5 separate regions of the Homo sapiens genome follow, and regions 1, 2, 3 and 4 are each linked to region 5. Evidence: promoter capture Hi-C in human tissues and cell types (Jung and others, 2019). All regions are on one chromosome and are shown on one strand. Each heading gives the region's core, a stretch centred on a gene start or on the middle of the fragment in contact. The rest is flanking DNA. Distances are from core to core; before and after follow the strand shown. Region 1 has its middle 48 kb from the start of NEK6. Region 2 holds the start of MIR181A2HG (MIR181A2 host gene). Region 3 overlaps NR6A1 (nuclear receptor subfamily 6 group A member 1). Region 4 overlaps NR6A1 (nuclear receptor subfamily 6 group A member 1). Region 5 holds the start of PSMB7 (proteasome 20S subunit beta 7).

Region 1 (3,770 bases), core at 42-2,541, 200 kb after region 5:
TTGTATTTTCAGTAGAGACAGGGTTTCATTATGTTGGCCAGGCCGGTCTCGAACTCCTGACCTCATGTGATCCACCCGCCTTGGCCTCCCAAAGTGCCAAGATTACAGGCATGAGCCACTGTGCCTGGCTGTATTGTGGGCTGTTATTAAATAAGGTAACAGACATAGAGTGTTGGGCCTGGCTCCTGCCGCACTCCAGGTGCTTGATGCGGTTGATGAAATAAAGTCAGACAGAGGCCCGGCAATCACACTCCTTGTGTTTACCCAAATGACTTGAAAACTTATGTGCACACAAAAACCTGCACACAAATATTTATAGCAGCTTCATTTATAATTGGCAAGATGTGGGAAGAACCAAGATGTCCTTCAATAGGTGAGTGGATAAACAAACTGTGGCCCATCCAGACAATGGAATATTATCCCGTAATGAAAAGAAACAGACTGTAGGAATGAGGAGTTATGGTTTAATGGTTATGGATTTCGGTTTGGGTGATGGATGGTGGCACGACAATTTGAATGTACTTCATGCCACTTCAAAATGGTTAAAATGAAGCCGGGTGTGGTGGCTCACGCCTGTAATCCCAGCACTTTGGGAGGCCGAGGCAAGTGGATCACTTGAGGTCAGGAGTTTGAGAGCAGCCTGGCTAACATGGTGAAACCCCGTCTCTATTAAAAATACAAAAATTAGCTGGGCATGGAGGTGGGCACCTGTAATCCCAGCTACTTGGCAGGAGAATCATTTGAACCTGGTAGGCAGATTTTGCAGTGAGTCGAGATCACGCCATTGCACTCCAGCCTGGGCCACAGAGTTAGACTCTGTCTCAGTGAAAAATTTTGTGTTTTGTATATTTTACCACAATAAAAAAAAGAAGTGAACTATTAAGTCATGAAAGAGCATGGAGGAGCTTTAAATGCATATTACTGGGTGAAAGAAGCCAGTCTGATTAGGCAACATACTGTATGATTCCAACTATATGGCACTCTGGAAAAGGCAAAACTATTAAAACAGTAAGAAAAAAAAAAAGACCGGTGATTGCCAGAAGCTGGGGGTGGAGGAAGGGAGGGGAGATGACGAGGTGGAATACAGGGGATTTTGGGGCAGTGAATCTATTTTGCATGATGCTGTTACGGTGGGTGCTTGTCATTATATGTTAGTCATTGTACATTAAATGTGTATACATGAGTCATCATGCATTATACATTTGTGTTGTGCATTCTATAGTGAATCCCAGTGTGAACTATGGACTTTAGTCAATAATAATGTGTTAATACTGCTCACCAATTGTAACAGATGTACTACAGTAATTCAAGATGTTCATCATAGGTGAAATAATGGGGTTGGAGGTGGTGGGGTATATGGGAATTTTCTGTGCTTTCTGCTTCTTTTGCTGTAAACAAAAAAACTGCTCTAAAAAAAGTAAAGTGTTTAAAAATAAAAATTAAAGTGAAAAAATGAAAAATGAAAGCTCTAAAACTTAATAAAAAATAAATAAAATGGGCCAGGCACAATGGCTCACATCTGGAATCCCAGCACTTTGGGAGGCCAAGGCAGGTAGATCACCTGAGGTCAGGAGTTGGAGACCAGCCTGGCCAACATGGTGAAACCCCATCTCTACTAAAAATACAAAAATTAGCTGGGTGTAGTGGCGGGCACCTGTAATCCCAACTACTCGGGAGGCTGAGGCAGAATTGCTTGAACCTGGGAGGTGGAGGTTGCAGTGAGCTGGGATCACGCCACTGCACTCCAGCCTGGGCGACAGAGTGGGACTCCATCTCAGAAAATAAAACTAAAAATAAAATGGACATCAACACTGGCCTTCCCTTAGCATTTAAAACCATGAGCAGGGCTGGACATCTTAGTAATTATTCGCCCAGTGGTTTCCAAACACTTTGAAATTTTTTTCCAAGCGTAAATTTATGGTGTCCCCCTCCACCCCCAAGACACTTCAAAAGCTCATTATGACCAGAGCAAACTAGATGAAACCAGCAAACAGGTTTGGAAGTGACTCCAGCTCCATCCTGTCATGGGGTCTCTCTAACTGGGCCCGTTCTCAACTCTCTGGGTTGGCCTGATTTTAGCCACAATGGATCACTGAAATCCATCTGAGCTCAGTGAACTGGTCAACTGATCTAGCTGATTCAAACCATTTGAAGCTGGCAGTGGCTGGTTGTATTTGTCCTAATTCAGCTCAAACCAGTTTGAACTGGCTGAAATTAGGCCCAAACTAAGAATCAAGAAGTGCATCCCCAAAACAAAGCCTCAAAAGGAAGAGAGGCTGAGATTCCATTCGGAGTGATAGAACAGGGGGTCTCGGTGGCTGGGGCCGGAATAGCCTAGTTTGAACAGATGAGTGTTCTGCTGCTGAGGCTGGAGAGAAGTGGAGGGCCTGGAGCCCCTTACCTCCTGCCTTTACTCCTACAGGGCCTCCCGGGAGCCCTAGGACTCCGTTCAGAGGAATAGAGGCAATAGGGTTGGGCTAACGAAAGGAAGATGGGAGGTGAGGAGTCAGAGGCAGCTCTACAAAGATAATGGGAGGAGGAAGGGAGGGGAAGGGCCCAAGGTGGGAGGAGTTTTCAAGATGCAACACCCCGGAGCAGGTCTGTGGGCTAACAGGAGAGGGAGGTACTGATCAGGAACACACAATAGGATTCAAGCCCTTAAAAAGGCAAGAAGCGGGGTGGATGCAGCGGCTCACTCCTGTAATCCCAGCACTTCAGGAAGCTGAGGTGGGCGGATCAGGTGGTCAGGAGTTCAAGACTGGTAGAGACAGTCTCTACCAAAAATACAAAAATTGTCCGGACGTGGTGGCATGCGCTCATAGTCCCAGTTACTTGGGAGGCTGAGGTAGGAGAATCGCTTGAACCCAGGAGGCAGAGGTTGCAGCAAGCCGAGATCGCACCACTGCATGACACAGGCATGGGCTACAGAGTGACTGTGTCTCAAACAAACAAACAAACAAACAACCAAAAAACAAAAGGCGAGAAGGAATGGGATTCAGAGCACAAGTCATGGCATTGGCCTCTGGGAAGAGAAGGGACATGGCCTCTGGATGCCAGGAAGGAGGACACAAAGACCAAGGCAGATGAGATAGGTTCACAGGGATGGGGCAAGACCAAGAAGGCAGTCACGCCTCTTGAGCATCTGTTCCATCAGTGGTGTTTGGGGCATGGTTACCTATTGAGAGAGATGGGGTGGCAAGGGGGTGATACATTTGAAAAGTGAAAAGATAGGAAATGCTTACTCCAGAAAAGAGAAACACAGGAGGCTCTGTGGGGCAGCTTGAGGTGCCCATTTGAGGTCTGTGGTCATGAATTTAGAGTGAAACCCGGAAGCTTAGCTGTGTGATTTTCTCCAGTGATACTCACTTGGGTGGGGTGGCACAGGCACATAGAGTCAGGAAGTCACCGGGTGTAGTAAATTGAATGGTGCTCTCAAAGATATATGTCCATAGCCAAACCCCCCAGAACCTGTGAATGTAGCTTTATTTAGAAAAAGGGTCTTTGGGCCGGGCGCGGTGGCTCACACCTGTAATCCCAGCACTTTGGGGGGCCAAGGCAGGTGGATCACTTGAGGTCAGGAGTTCAAGACCAGCCTGGCCAACATGGCAAAACCCCGTCTCTACTAAAAATACACACAAAAAAATTAGCCAGGCGTGGTGGTGTGCACCTGTAATCCCAATTACTTGGGAGGTTGAGGCAGGAGAATCACTTGAACCTGGGAGGTGGAATTGCAGTGAGCCAGGATGGCACCACCACTCTCCAGCCTGGGT
Region 2 (3,676 bases), core at 444-2,943, 240 kb before region 5:
TATGCAAAGAAAATAGAAACAAGTTCAAATGCAATGCATTAACCAAATAAAACAAGTCTGCTTCAAATTAGGAACCAACCTAAGCATTTGTAAAGTGTAGCAGAATCAGAATTCTTTTAAAAATTAGATTTGGAACCTGAACTATATAATTCATAATTCTCATTTTTCTGTGGAAAATTATTTTATCTTTCTCCTGTATACCTGAAAAAATGTCCATAGGCTTAAAGGGTCATGCTTTTACATTCCTTCCATATCACAGGTACTATGAAGTAAGGAGACTTTTAGGTTTCTTTTTGTCTTAAACTCAGACAGCTTTGTAAGCAGTAGTGTGTAGATTACAAGAGTTAGACAAAAGCAGGCGCGACTGAGAAGAGTTGGTGGGGGAGAAGCTTGGGGCACTTCCTGTCACTCAACACATTCCAGATCACTAAAAAATTTCCACACCCTCTGCATTCCCCCTTGCCCACTCCAGTTCCCGGTATTTTCTGATTCCATATGTTGTGGTATTTACCATACTTCTCTCCCTCACTAGGCTCTGGCAAGACTGCTTCAGAGGGGATGCATTCCTTTAGATTGCACAAAGCGGAGCTGGGAAAATGGCTGGCAGTTTCAGAATCTAGTCACGATCGCACGCATGAGCACCTCACACATCCATGTCCCTACCCGCCCCCCCGCTCCCGCCCCTGCAGCTGGCTGACCTGTCTCACCCACTGCTGGCCTATCGAACGGCCAGGACTGTCTGGTTTTGGCTCGTGCCTTTGTCCATGTCTGGCTTAGTTCCTCTCTGTCTATGCTTGCCTCTACCCCCACCGCCCCAGGCGGCACAAGTGTTTGGCCACACAAAACTAGAGATAGAAAAGGTGGTAAAAACTTCAAACTTTTCTAAATTCTCCAACAGTTTATTTCTTGTGAATTTCTTCCTTCTTTAAATACTCCATTTTAAGAAAACAAAAAAATTAATTATCTAAAGGCAAAGAATGGAAAGCAACCTTTGTGTTCCTTATAATAACTGACTTCATAACTCTCTCCAGCTGCGTTATGGGATGTGTATAAAAAGCTTCTGTTCTGAGAACAAAGGAGCACGTGCAGAAATGAGACGAAAAAATCCACTGACAGTATTCCATTACACAAATTACTTAAAAGATTTTAGTCAAGCCCCTCAACAGATTCAATTTTAAAATGGCTTTTAGTTAAAAAAAAAAAATTGAAAGTGCTTACCCAGTAAAAGAACCGAAGTAGTCCTGAACTGTTACGTAAGACTTTTTACAGTTGGATCTTTGTCAAAAGGGGATGGGGGTGATGGGAGAAAGCAGCAACGACAATCAAAAAAGTTCGAGCTGCTGTGGCTAGAGGACAACTTCTGTGTTTCCAGATAGGATTCTTGCTGTAGAAATGGAACTTCCAGCCAGCACAGCATCCTGTCCCAGTAGAGAAATGAGTTTGTCAGTTAAAACAAAAAAAAAATTAGATACTGGAACCCAGGCTAGACGAGGTATTGAACCGCGCCAGATTTCCTTGCAGCCCTGTCTGCTCAGCTCGCATTGAACTATATATGACCCAGATGATGGACAGAAGCACATTTAGTCATGTGCACACTGGAAGAAAGCGGATTTGCTGGTCCCTGGCAGTGCAGGGGTTTGTCTTCTGATTGGGCTGTGCCCTGATCGGTGAAATGTGAAGCCCTCACCATTCAGAGGCCGTAATTCAGGACTGGCAGTTTGAGTGTCTGGCTGCCTCTAGTCACTGAGAGACTTTGAAGGTGTTGCTTTTGTTTGGTGGCATTACCCACCCAGAGGTTGCTTACACCTCTCTACTTGTGTCAGAAGAAATACTAGTCTTTCTGAAATACAAATAGGCAGCCGATTTTTCCTGAATCCTAAATCACCCTATTGTTGATAAACTTGGCTCTAACTGAAACCAATTATTTGATTTGAAAATTTATTGTGATCCTAACCAAGCTTCATATCCAGACCAACCCTTGGTCTTGATTTTATAGGTTTGATAAGGTAAAAATAAAAGTGGCATATTTGACTTTGAAGCCTCTATATGATATAAATTGCTCTTAATGAAAATTGGATAGATGGACAACAGAGAAGTGAAGTTTTAGATTCTGGAGTGTTTGGATGTATGAGGAAGAAGCTTTATGTCTTTTTATCCCCTTTGTGAGACTGTCACTCTTGTCCCAGTCCTAGTCACATTAGGGGTTGCTGGGGGGGGGAAGCTATGAAAGCATGGACCCTACTGAGCTGTGACATAGCCTTTAATCATGCAAGACAGCCACGGTCTGCTCTCTTCAGTCTGTCTGAACTAGGGTCCTTGGGGTTTATTTTCCATCTTTCTGAGCCACTGGGAAACCAGGTCATTATACAGGACTGTCATTTGTGACATTTTTGTTTAGTACATGGCAGTTGCTTTGTTTATTTAATGCAAGTTGACACTTCTTTAAAGTTTCAAAACAGTAAAGTTGTTTTGTGAGACCTTGACTCTGATATATGAAATCTACTCTACATGGACCAATCATTTTTTTCCGTGGACTTTCTTGTCTCTTTAGAAATTAGCTTATAGAGTCCTAAATTGATACTTAAACATACCAATAGTTCTGTTTATTTCTTGCCTTTCTCACAGTTGTTGAAATAATTCCATCTGTCTCTTTTGCTGTAAATTTTGGGTTTGGATGTTTGTACTTGGAATTTTTTAGATGTTGACTATATTATGCAGCACCTTCCATATGAGGACTACCCCAGAATTATTCTCTTGTCTTAACCCGAGAAAAGCTGTTTTGATGCACTATTAGATATAAGAATGTTCGAAAGAAGAGGAGATGAGCACTCTCTTGCTTTTTGTAAGCCACAAGACAATCTTTTTTTTTTCTAAGTTGTGGTAAGGTATATGTAACATAAAATTGACTGTTGTAATAATTTTTAAGTGTATAGTTCTGTGGTGTTAAGTGCATTCACGTTGTTTTGCAGCCTTCACCACCATCCATCCACCACAGAACTCTTCTCCTCTTGCAAAACTGAAATTCTCTACCTACCTGTTAAACACTAACTTGCCATTCTTCCCTCCCCCAGGCCCTGGGGACAACCATCATTCTACTTTCTCTTTGATTTTTTGTTTTTTGTTTTTGGAGACGGAATTTTACTCTTGTTGCCCAAGCTGGGATGCAATGGCACTGTCTTGGCTCACTGCAACTTCCGCCTCCTGGGTTCAAGCAATTCTCCTTCCTCAGCCTCCTGAGTAGCTGGGACTACAGGTGCCCACCACCACGCCTGGCTAGTTTTTGTATTTTTAGTAGACACGGGGTTTCACCATGTTGGCCAGGCTGGTCTCGAACTCGTGATCTCAAGTGATCCACCCACCTTGGCCTCCCAAAATCCTAGAATTACAGGCATGAGCCCACCGTGCCTAGCCTCTGTCTGTTTGCTTTTTGACTACTCTAGATACCTCATATAAGTGGAATAATACAAGATGTGTTCCCTTTTGACAGGCTTATTTCACTTAGCATGGTGTCCTCAAGGTTCATGCATGTTGTCGCATGTCAGAATTTCCTTACGTTTTAAGGCTGAATAATATACCATTGCATGTGTATACTACTGTCTTAGTCCCTTTAGTGTTGCTGTAAAGGAATACCTGAGGCTGGGTAATTTATAAAGAAAAGAGGTTTATTTGGCTCATG
Region 3 (3,364 bases), core at 30-2,529, 170 kb before region 5:
TGAGGCAGGAGAATCGCTTGAACGTGGGAGGTGGAGGTTGCAGTGAGCTGAGATGCTGAGATTGCGCCACCCACTGCACTCCAGCCTGGGTGACAGAGTGAGACTCTGTCTCAAAAAAAAAAAAAAAAAGCCAAGTGCAATAAAATGATGTATGCTCATGCACTGTTCTTTCATTCAACTGATGTTCACTAGTGATTGCTCTGTGCTTGGTATTGAGCTATGCATTAGGGATACAGAAAAAATAAGACTCTCTCCCTGCCCTGTGATATACCCAAGTCTAGCAGAGGGAAATAGATCCTCACATAAATAAGTGTAATGAAGTGTTCGGGGCATACTGATAGCAATACTGTAGAGTACAGAAGCTGTGCAGAGGGCAGAGTGCTCATTTGTGAGTACAGAAGTTGTGCAGAGGGCTATCAGGTTAGGCCTCACTCAGGAAGTCATCCTGAGAGACTGATAGATGTTTGCCAGGCTGGTGAAGTGGCAAAGGGTCTCCTAAGCAGAGGAGCAGCATGAGCACATGCCTGACAATGTGAAACAACCTGACCGAGTATGCCGTGAGTTCTAAGACTCATATAGGACAGAAGTATTGTTTGGTTCTAGATACAAGGGAAACCCTAGAGAGAACTTTGATCTGTGAGTGGATGCCCCTGCCCCTAAACAGAAGAGAGCCCCCCTCACATTCCTGTCAGTCTTCTTCTGAATATGTTGAAGAGATTAATGTACCTTGCTAGAAAGGAGCACAAGCACAGTTCTGCCTCAGAACTAGAGGCCTAGATGCTGGAGGTTTAACACTTCAAGAAACTGTCCTGGGATTTAGGGAGAGCATGCTATAGCCTTACTTAACCTTGTTACAAATTGCCAGGTACTACAGAGGGAGAGGCCTCGGTTAAGTGGTTGTAAGAAGTTATACTCTGTGAAGGAGTCATCTGTCCTCTAGGGGAGTGTTCCCAACAGAAAGGGAGTCTGTTGTATTTTCTTAATGAATGGAAAAATAGAGTCTGAATATCTTATCCAAACTTTTCCCACTAATTGAAAGGTTTCTTTTGGTTTTCTAGAGCAAGGGGTGGGTGTGGGTGTGGGTGGGTGGGTGCGTGATTTGCTGAGCAATCATTGTATTTTTACTTACATCTTGTGAAATGTTGATTACCTAATGGCCAAAGCATTATAATGTTTTTGGATAGATAATTTGGGGTGCTTTTGTTTTTAACTTCATTGTACAATTAGCATACAGAAAAATTGAGTGCTTTGGGGGGGAAGGGCGTACTCTTCTGTGAATATAGATTTGTGTAATCTCTGTAACCACCTCCACAGTGATGATACAAAACCATTTTCTTTCTTTTTTTCTTTAGAGAGATGGGGTCTTGTTCTTTTGCAGTATGCAATCTCAGCTCACTGCAACCTTGAACTCTTATGCTCAAACAATCCTTTTGCCTCAGCCTCCTGAGTAGCTGGGACTACAGGCACACACCACCATGCCCAGCTAATTTGTTTTCTTTTTAATAGAGATGAGGTCTCACTGTATTGGCCTGGCTGGTCTCAAATTCCTGGCCTCAAGCAGTCCTTCCACCTTGGCCTCCCAAAGTGCTAGGATTACAGGCATGGGCCACTCCACCTGGCCCAGAACCATTTCTTTTTTTTTTTTTAACTTTTAAGTTCAGGGGTACATGTGCAGGATGTGCTGGTTTGTTACATAGGTAAATGTGTGTCATGGAGGTTTGTTGTACAGATCATTTCATCACCCAGGTATTAAGCCTAGCATCCATTAGTTATTTTTCCTGATCCTCTCCCTCCTCCCACCCTCTGCCCTCTGGTAAGCCCCAGTGTGTGTTGTTCCCCTCTATGTGTCCGTGTGTTCTCATCATTTAGCTCCTCCTTATAAGTGGGAACATGCGGTATTTGGTTTTCTGTTCGCATGTTAGTTTGCTAAGGATAATGGCCCCCAGCTTCATCTGTGTCCTTGCAGATCTTGTTCTTTTTTATGGCTGACTAGTATTCCATGGTGTATATGTATCACATTTTCTTTATCCAGTCTATCACTGATGGACATTTAGTTTGTTTCTGTATCTTTGCTATTGTGAATAGTACTGCAATGAATGTACATGTACATATGTCTTTATAATAGAATGATTTATATTCCTTTGGTTATATACCCAGTAATGGGATTGCTGGGTCGAATGGTATTTCTGGTTCTTGGTCTTTGAGAAATCACCACAACATCTTCTACAATGGTTGAACTAATATTCACTCTCACCAAAAGTATAAAAGCATTCCTATTTCTCCACGGCCTCGCCAGCATCTGTTGTTTCTTCACTCTTTAATAATTGCCATTCTGACTGATGTGAGATGGTATCTCACTGTGGTTTTGATTTGCATTGCTCTAATGATCATTGATGTTGAGCTTTTTTTCATGTTTGTCGGCTCATAAATGTCTTCTTTTGAGAAGCGTCTGTTCATATCCTCGGCCCACTTTTTCAATGTGGTTGGTTTTTTTCTTGTAAATTTGATTAAATTCCTTGTAGATTCTGGATATCAGACCTTTGTCAGATGGATAGATTGCAAAAATTTTCTCCCATTCTGTAGGTTGTCTGTTTACTCTGATGATAGTTTCTTTTTGTTTGTTCGTTTGTTTTTTGAGACGGAGTCTTGCTCTGTCTCCAGGCTGGAGTGCAATGGCGTGATCTCGGCTCACTGCAACCTCCCCCTCCTGGGTTCAAGTGATTCTCCTGTGTCAGCCTCCCGAGTAGCTGGGACTACAGGCATGCACCACCATGCCCAGCTAATTTTTCTATTTTTAGTAGAGACGGGGTTTCACCATGTTGGCCAGATGGTCTCGATCTCTTGACCTCGTGATCCGCCTGCCTCGGCCTACCAAAGTGCTGGGATTACAAGCGTGAGCCACTGTGCCCGGCCTCTGATGATAGTTTCTTTTGCTGTGCAGAAGCTCTTTAGTTTAATTAAATCCCATTTGTCAATTTTTGCTTTTGTTACAATTGTTTTTGGCATCTTCATCATGAAATCTTTGCCTCTTCCCATGTACTGATGGTATTGCCTAGGTTTTCTTCTAGGGTTTTTATAGTTTTGGGTTTTACATTTAAGTCTTTAATCCATCTTGAGTTGATTTTTGTATATGGTATAAGGAAGGGATCCAATTTCAATTTTCTGCATATGGCTAGCCAGTTCTTCCAGCACCATTTCTTGTTTTTGTCAGGTTTGTCAAAGATCAGATGGCTGTAGGCATGCAGTCTTATTTCTGGGTTCTCTATCCTGTTCAATTGGTCTGTGTGTCTGTTCTCATACCAGTACCATACTATTTTGGTTACTGTATCCCTGTAGTATAGTCTGAAGTCAGGTAGCATGATGC
Region 4 (3,409 bases), core at 910-3,409, 140 kb before region 5:
ACAATTGTACTCACCTATGTATGGGGTTTTGAGGATTACATGAGTCAGTGAAGTAAAGCCTACCTAGTTGTGGTGGGTGTTCAGTGAAATCGTATCAGTGAAGAAAGGAAGGTGTGTCCTTGTGGATATATTCATTATAACTGTTTTTAAGTCTATTCTAATAAGGCTCTGGTTTACATTATAGTCATATCTAAAAGAACACTGAAGGTTTTAAAATTAGAAAATTTAGATTCTTCCATAGCCAATCATGGTTTCCCAACAGTGTTCCATGTTCCATTTCCAGGCCTTTTCAGCACTCTAGGAAATCCCATCTCAAACATAGTGGGTGCTATTTTTATGCTATTCATTTTGCCTGTTTGGCCTTACCTGTTTTAATTTTTAAAATTTGCTATTGTAACTTTTCTGTAGTGTTTACCTTGAGCTTTCTTTATGTTTTCAAAAGGAAAATAAAAGGAATACTGATCACACCAGGGCCATTTTTATAGGGTATCTTTTTTTTCTTAATAGGGCTTTTTGTATTTTGTTTGTGTTGCAAACAACAGAAACTCACTTAAGTTAGCTTAAGAAAGAAAAGAAGGAGGATTGGCCGGGCGCGGTGGCCCACTCCTGTCATCCCAGAACTTTGGGAGGCCGAGGTGGGTGGATCACGAGGTCAGGAGTTCAAGACCAGCCTGGCCAACATGGTGAAACCCCATCTCTACTGAAAATACAAAAATTAGCCAGGCATGGTGGCACGTTCCTGTAATCCCAGCTACTCGGGAGGCTGAGGCAGGATCATTACTTGAACCGGGACCTGGGAGGCAGAGGTTGCAGTGAGCCAAGATCGCGCTACTGCACTCCAGCCTGGGCTACAGAGTGAGATCCGTCTCAAAAAAAGAAAAAAGGAGGATTGTATTACAATAACGTGGTTATGTCAATTTGTCACTGTGCTGTTTTCTCAAAGGAAGTGTATCCAAGCCTTAGAAAAGTCTGTAACCAAGAACTGTAGAGTCCTCAAGAACCTAGGCAGTCTTTCCATATCTGTCGTTCTCCATTTCCCTGGTTGTATAATCTCATGTATGTACTTGTCTGTGAGTACCTGCTGTTTGCCAGCTGACTTGAGACAAGTCTTAATATTGCCTGTTTCCCTGTTTGCGAAAAAAAAAAAAAGGTATATTAGTTTCCTGTGCTGCTGTAACAAATTACCACAAACTCAGTGCCTGAAAACAACAAAAATTTACTCTCTTACTGGAAGAGAAGCCATAAATCCAAAATCAGGTCGGGCGTGGTGGCTCACACCTCTAATCCCAGCACTTTGGGAGGCCAAGGTGTGCAGATCACTTGAGGTCAGGAATTCAAGACCAGCCTGGCCAAGATGGTAAAACCCCGTCTCTACTAAAAATACAAAAATTAGCAGGGCATGGTGGCAGGCACCTGTAATCCCAGCTACTTGGGAGGCTGAGGCAGGATAATTGCTTGAACCTAGGAGGCGGAGGTTGCAGTGAACCGAGATTGAACCACTGCACTCCAGCCTGGGTGACAGAGCAAGACTCCCTTTCAAAAAAAAAAAAAAAAAATCAGTATCCCTGGGCTGAAATGAAAGTGTTTGCAGAGCCACACTCCTTTCAGAAGCTCTAGGGGAGAATCGGTTCCTTGCCTCTTCCAACTTCTGGTGACTGCCGTCATTCCTTGGTTGGTGGCCAGTTTCTGCCTCTGTCTTCGTATCACCTTCTCTTTTGCATGTGATGTGTTTCTTCTTCTCTACTATCTTTATCAGATCTTCCTCTGCCTCTGTCTTACGAAGACACTTGTGATTGTATTTCGGGCCCACCCATATAATTCAGAATAACCCCCTACCGCAAGATTCTTAATTCAATCACATCTACAAATACCCTTTTTCCTTTATAAGGTAGCATTTTACAGGTTCCAAGGATTAGGACCTGATATCTATGGGTCGCAGTTATTCTGCTTACTATAGATGGCAATCATAAAGACTCATCTCAAAGTTGGCATATATTAAGGGCTCCAGAAATGCAAGCCACCTCCTTTCTCTGCATCCCTCCTGTATATACTACCATGACCCTCTGCTAACATTGCCTTCGAAAGCTTTTCCTTTCAGGAATGTCATTATCACATTAAATGTGTACCTGCTGGGGTAATAATAATGAAAATAATAGCTGACAGTTATCAAATGTCTATTATAGCCCACACACTGCAATGAGAACTTTATCCATGGGATATAGGTATTATTATAATCACCATTTAACAGATGAGAGAAATTAGAAAAGTAAAGAAGGTCAATTTTTCCCTAGTTCACCCAGCTAGTTTCAGAGCTAGGGTTCAAATTAGAATCTCTCTAATTATAAGCGGTCTCTAATTCATGGTATAATGATGTGCCTTTGTTTTTGTTTATTTGTTTTTTAAGAGATATGGTCTTGCCGTCGCTCAGGCTGGAATGCAGTGGTGCAATCATAGCTCACTGCAGCCTCAAACTCCTAGGCTCAAGCAGTCCTCCTGCTTCAGCCTCCTCAGTAGATGAGACTACAGGTGTGTGCCATCACGCCTGGCTCTATAACGATGTTCTTGATTATTATACCTTCCCTCTTACTCAGGAGTGAGGTTGAAATATCTGATTTCTTGTCTTGGCCTCTGATCGGAACCTTCCCTGGTGATTTCTTGTACCTGCTGGCATAGCTTCACATCACAGTTCACAGGGTGCTTTTTTGTCGTGTGCCTGCTCTTTAGCAGTTGCTTGGTCCTGAGTAAATGCAGTTTAAAGGAAGAGGAAGTGAAGAGCTATATTCTATCCTGAATTTCCTCCTTGAGTAACTTGTTTATTGCTCGTCAGTGAGTTCCATGACTCTGGGGATCATGATGATTTATTTATGTCCTAGCACAGGGCCTGGACACAGAATAGATACTCTGCTAGAGTGTAAGCTTCACCAGGGGCTTCTGTTCACTGCTGTATTTGTGCCTTACAGCAGTTCCCAGGATAGAAGAGTTGCACAGTAAATATTTATTGGCTGGATGTCTGGCTGACCGGCTTAGCTCGGTATGGTTAGAACTCAATTACAGCTGTCATTTATTGGCTGTATATCATGTGTTAGGCCCTTACATATATGGTAAGTAATCCTTACCGTGCTCCTACAGGGTAGAATTGATGGGTTATAGATGAGCAGGGTAAGGGTGATAGAGGAGTCAAAGATTCTTTCTAGGTTTCAGTCTTAGATACTGATCCAAGTGTTGATGAAACCCAGGAGGAAGAGTTTAGGTAGACTGTGTTGTGGTATCTGCAACCACAGATACAGGGACTACTCTTGGGACAAGGATCCGAAGATGGGCCCCCTGTTTGCCCTTTAGCCTGGAGATAGTGGTGGTCTTAATCTACCCAGAGCAGAGTTGCTCACTTTAGGAACTGTAGGCTTAAAGC
Region 5 (3,300 bases), core at 308-2,807:
CCATTCATCAGTGGATGGACATTTGTTTCCATTATTTGGCTATTGTGAATAATGAGACCCCCCCCTCGCTTTTTTTTTTGAGACGGAGTCTCTGCTCTGTTGCCCAGGCTGGAGTGCAGTGGCGTGATCTCAGCTCACTGCAACTTCTGCCTCCCTGGTTCGAGCTATTCTCCTGCCTCGGCCTCCTGACTAGCTGGGACTACAGGTGCCCACCACCACGTCTGGCTAAGTTTTTGTATTTTTAGTAAAGACGGAGTTTCACCGTGTTAGCCAGGATGGTCTCAATCTCCTGACCTCATGATCCGCCCACCTCGGCCTCCCAAAGTGCTGGGATTACAGGCGTGAGACACCGCGCCCAGCCAATGAGACCCCTTTTGACGCAGGGCAGGTAAGCCCCAAAGTGCGGCTGAGCCCACAAGGGTTCTTGGCTTTGCCCAAGAAAGAATTCAAGGGCAAGTTAGAGGCAGAAGAAAACGGCTTTATTGAAGTGGCGGCGTTACAGCTCCATGACTGCTCCTGCAGAGCAGGGTTACCCTCTTAGGCAGAGTGTCAGGGCAGTTTTGCTGTCATATTTATACACACTTTTAATTACATGCAGATTAAGGGGTGGTTTATGCAGGCATTTCTAGGGAAGGGGTAGTAACTTTTGGTTTATGGTGCCACTGCCATGGAAAGGGGCGGTAACTCACGAGTGTTGCCATGGCAACGGTAAACTGACTTGGCTGGCTGGTGAGCGAGTCTTAGGGAAGACAGCTTCCGTCCAGGCCCTGTTTTAGCTAGTCCTCAATTTGGTCAGGTATCTCAGCCCCATCTCTGAATGGAGGCCTGCCTTCTACCTCACCTTTGTAGAAGTTTTTGTGAATACATGTCTTCAACCCTCTCGGGTGCGTATCTAAGAGGATAATACTTTTTGGGGAACTGCCAAATTGTTTTCCGGAGCAGCCGCACCGTTTTGCATTCTCACCAGCCGTGTATTCGGGTTCCAATTTCTCCACACTCTCGCAACCCTTGCGCTTTTCTGTCTTTTTGTTTATGGCCATCCTAGCGGGTGCGAAGTGGGATCTCACTGTGGTCGTGCTTTGCATTCACCCTATGACTAATCATGTTGAGCCTCTTTTCACAGACTTAATGGCCATTCTACAGCAGCCTTTTGAGCTAGGTTGTAATCTCCATCTGATAGCGGAGGAAACAGATTCAGAGAGTTGAAGAGACTTGCTTAACGCAAGGGGGTGGTGGGGCTGTGCCTGGGACTTGGGTCTGTCTGTCTCTGAAGCACCGCAGAACCAAATTAACGGTAGAAACAAGTCCAGTCTGAGCGGCAGGAGACCTGGTCGCTGGTGCGTTCACCTTGGACAAGTCCTTTCCCGGTTCCGGGTGTCACTTTCTCCTCCGTGCCACTTGGGGCGATATACTTCAAACATCTCTGGCCTCTCTAGGAACCAGAATCTCTAAGATCAATCGTTCTAGTGCGGCGTTTGCCCCGCCCCTTCAGCCCCCGTTGCCAGCGACGCCGGAAGTGCTCGGCTCTTTTTGTTTGCACCCGCCTCCGACCCGGAACTGCTTTCTTGGGAAGATGGCGGCTGTGTCGGTGTATGCTCCACCAGTTGGAGGCTTCTCTTTTGATAACTGCCGCAGGTGCCGCCTTGCTTGGGGCTTGGTTCAGGGAGGGAGAAGAGTGCGGTGCTCGGGTGGGAGCTGGGCCAAGGTGTGATACGAGAATTCTGAGGGAAGAATTCATGGCGGGGCCTGTGGCCCGCGGCTAGTGTGACTCAGGGGAATCAGGGCCTGGGCGTGGGTTTCTCCTGAAGCCGGGTCTGCTCTCCCACCTTCCCAGCGCACTCGGCCACCGTTTATCTCCGTCTCCTAAGGCACGTCACGGCCCCTTTGTAAGACTGTCTTCGTTGGAAAACGGGAGAACAGTGCTGATGGTGGGAGGATTCATTAAACAGATGGGCGTGAAAACAAGTAGCAGCTTTCCTGAGTTCTCTGTTAGGCACTTTTCATGCCAGTGCTGTGCGATGTGGTCCTGCCCTTCAACACTTGATTCTCTCATTTGCTCTTAGGAATGCCGTCTTGGAAGCCGATTTTGCAAAGAGGGGATACAAGCTTCCAAAGGTCCGGAAAACTGGCACGACCATCGCTGGGGTGGTCTATAAGGTAAGCCGGGTTAGGCTAAGAGCAGCAGTGACTGAACCGGCAACAGGAATCAGAACACTTGGCTTCCGGTGTCTCTCCCGGCTCGGTCTGGAAAGGCAAATGCTATAGAATACATCAGGAGACCGTCTTTCAGGAGCGACTGCTTTTGTCAGGTTTTGTGTGCTTCTTAACAGTTTATGTTCTTTCCTCACTTTGCTGAGGTTTTTTCTTTCTTTCTTTTTTTTTTTTTTAAACAGGTCAGTTAGCTTCTTAATTACTAGTTTAGGAAGCTGAAGTATGTGATGGGAGATCACGAGATTTGGGGTCAGACAGGTCTGTCTCACCTTTGAACTCTATAGTGCTGATTCCAACTTCTGGCAGCTCACTTTCCTTCTCACAGGGACACCTTCAGATGCATCAAATGGAGATAACTCCTGCCTTAAATTGTTGGAAACGTCAAAAGGGATAATGATTACCTGTGCAACATGTTTTAAAGAAAAGCAACATGTTTTAAAAGGAAATTGATAGTGATGGCTAATTTAATGGAAAGATTCCTGAGTCTTAATCCAGGTTTTTTCCAGATTAGCTCTGATTTACAAGGAATTTACCCGACACCTGAGCCTCACTTGAAAATGGGAATAATTCTTACCTACTCAGGATTCAATTAGTAGCATTTACTAAGAAACCTTTTCTTAAATCCTGAAAGTGTAGCACAATATTTTTGCTATGAGTTTTGGCTGGCGTTTTGAGATTAGGGGAGCATGTGGTATGGCCAACATAGTATTCCCTAAAGTAGAATAGAGAGTTGCGGTTGGCTTATATTTGTAAAATTGTTTAAAAACTTTTTTTTTTAATAGGATGGCATAGTTCTTGGAGCAGATACAAGAGCAACTGAAGGGATGGTTGTTGCTGACAAGAACTGTTCAAAAATACACTTCATATCTCCTAATATTTAGTAAGTATTGATTCGTTTGAATAACTCTTATATTTTCAAACATGTCAGGGCTAAAAATTGACCTTCCTGTGCTCCTTACTAAAACCTGTTTTTCAACCTGTATTTTCTGTCTCCCTTAAATGGCATTTCCAGCCACCTGTTACCTAAGCCAGTAACTTCAAGTCCTCTCTTTGCTTCAGTCTCCAATTGAATTGGTGGCCAGTTTTGCC

Evidence for each region. The method cuts DNA at HindIII sites, captures the fragments that hold promoters and counts their contacts. A contact is called where the count stands out against the background at its distance.
Region 1: a fragment that was not itself captured here is called in contact with the fragment with the promoter of PSMB7 in region 5 in 1 of the 25 tissues and cell types used here (spleen).
Region 2: a fragment that was not itself captured here is called in contact with the fragment with the promoter of PSMB7 in region 5 in 4 of the 25 tissues and cell types used here (adrenal gland, aorta, dorsolateral prefrontal cortex and 1 more).
Region 3: a fragment that was not itself captured here is called in contact with the fragment with the promoter of PSMB7 in region 5 in 1 of the 25 tissues and cell types used here (mesenchymal stem cells).
Region 4: a contact is called between a fragment that was not itself captured here and the fragment with the promoter of PSMB7 in region 5, in 1 of the 25 tissues and cell types used here (spleen).

What each region holds. Positions count from the first base shown.
Region 1 is chr9:124,208,285-124,212,054 of GRCh38, reverse strand. No RefSeq gene overlaps it. Among named protein-coding and RNA genes, the nearest start is that of NEK6, 48 kb to the left of the region's middle. RefSeq lists silencers at 3,212-3,261, 3,322-3,411. The HindIII fragment of the contact is 6,047 bases long and covers 1-3,770 here.
Region 2 is chr9:124,656,284-124,659,959 of GRCh38, reverse strand. The region is part of intron 2 of NR6A1 (nuclear receptor subfamily 6 group A member 1); the gene reads left to right. MIR181A2HG (MIR181A2 host gene) reads right to left here and starts at 1,524. Exons shown (of 2, transcript NR_038975.1): 1 at 1,219-1,524. RefSeq lists enhancers at 487-536, 1,358-1,477. The HindIII fragment of the contact is 3,606 bases long and covers 1-3,496 here.
Region 3 is chr9:124,580,862-124,584,225 of GRCh38, reverse strand. All of the region lies in intron 2 of NR6A1 (nuclear receptor subfamily 6 group A member 1), which reads left to right. Among named protein-coding and RNA genes, the nearest start is that of NR5A1, 75 kb to the right of the region's middle. The HindIII fragment of the contact is 4,440 bases long and covers 1-3,364 here.
Region 4 is chr9:124,554,608-124,558,016 of GRCh38, reverse strand. All of the region lies in intron 2 of NR6A1 (nuclear receptor subfamily 6 group A member 1), which reads left to right. Among named protein-coding and RNA genes, the nearest start is that of NR5A1, 49 kb to the right of the region's middle. The HindIII fragment of the contact is 3,599 bases long and covers 360-3,409 here.
Region 5 is chr9:124,413,699-124,416,998 of GRCh38, reverse strand. PSMB7 (proteasome 20S subunit beta 7) reads left to right here and starts at 1,557. Exons shown (of 8, transcript NM_002799.4): 1 at 1,557-1,635; 2 at 2,064-2,157; 3 at 2,994-3,091. The coding sequence starts at 1,574. RefSeq lists an enhancer at 1,601-1,650. The HindIII fragment of the contact is 5,075 bases long and covers 1-2,822 here.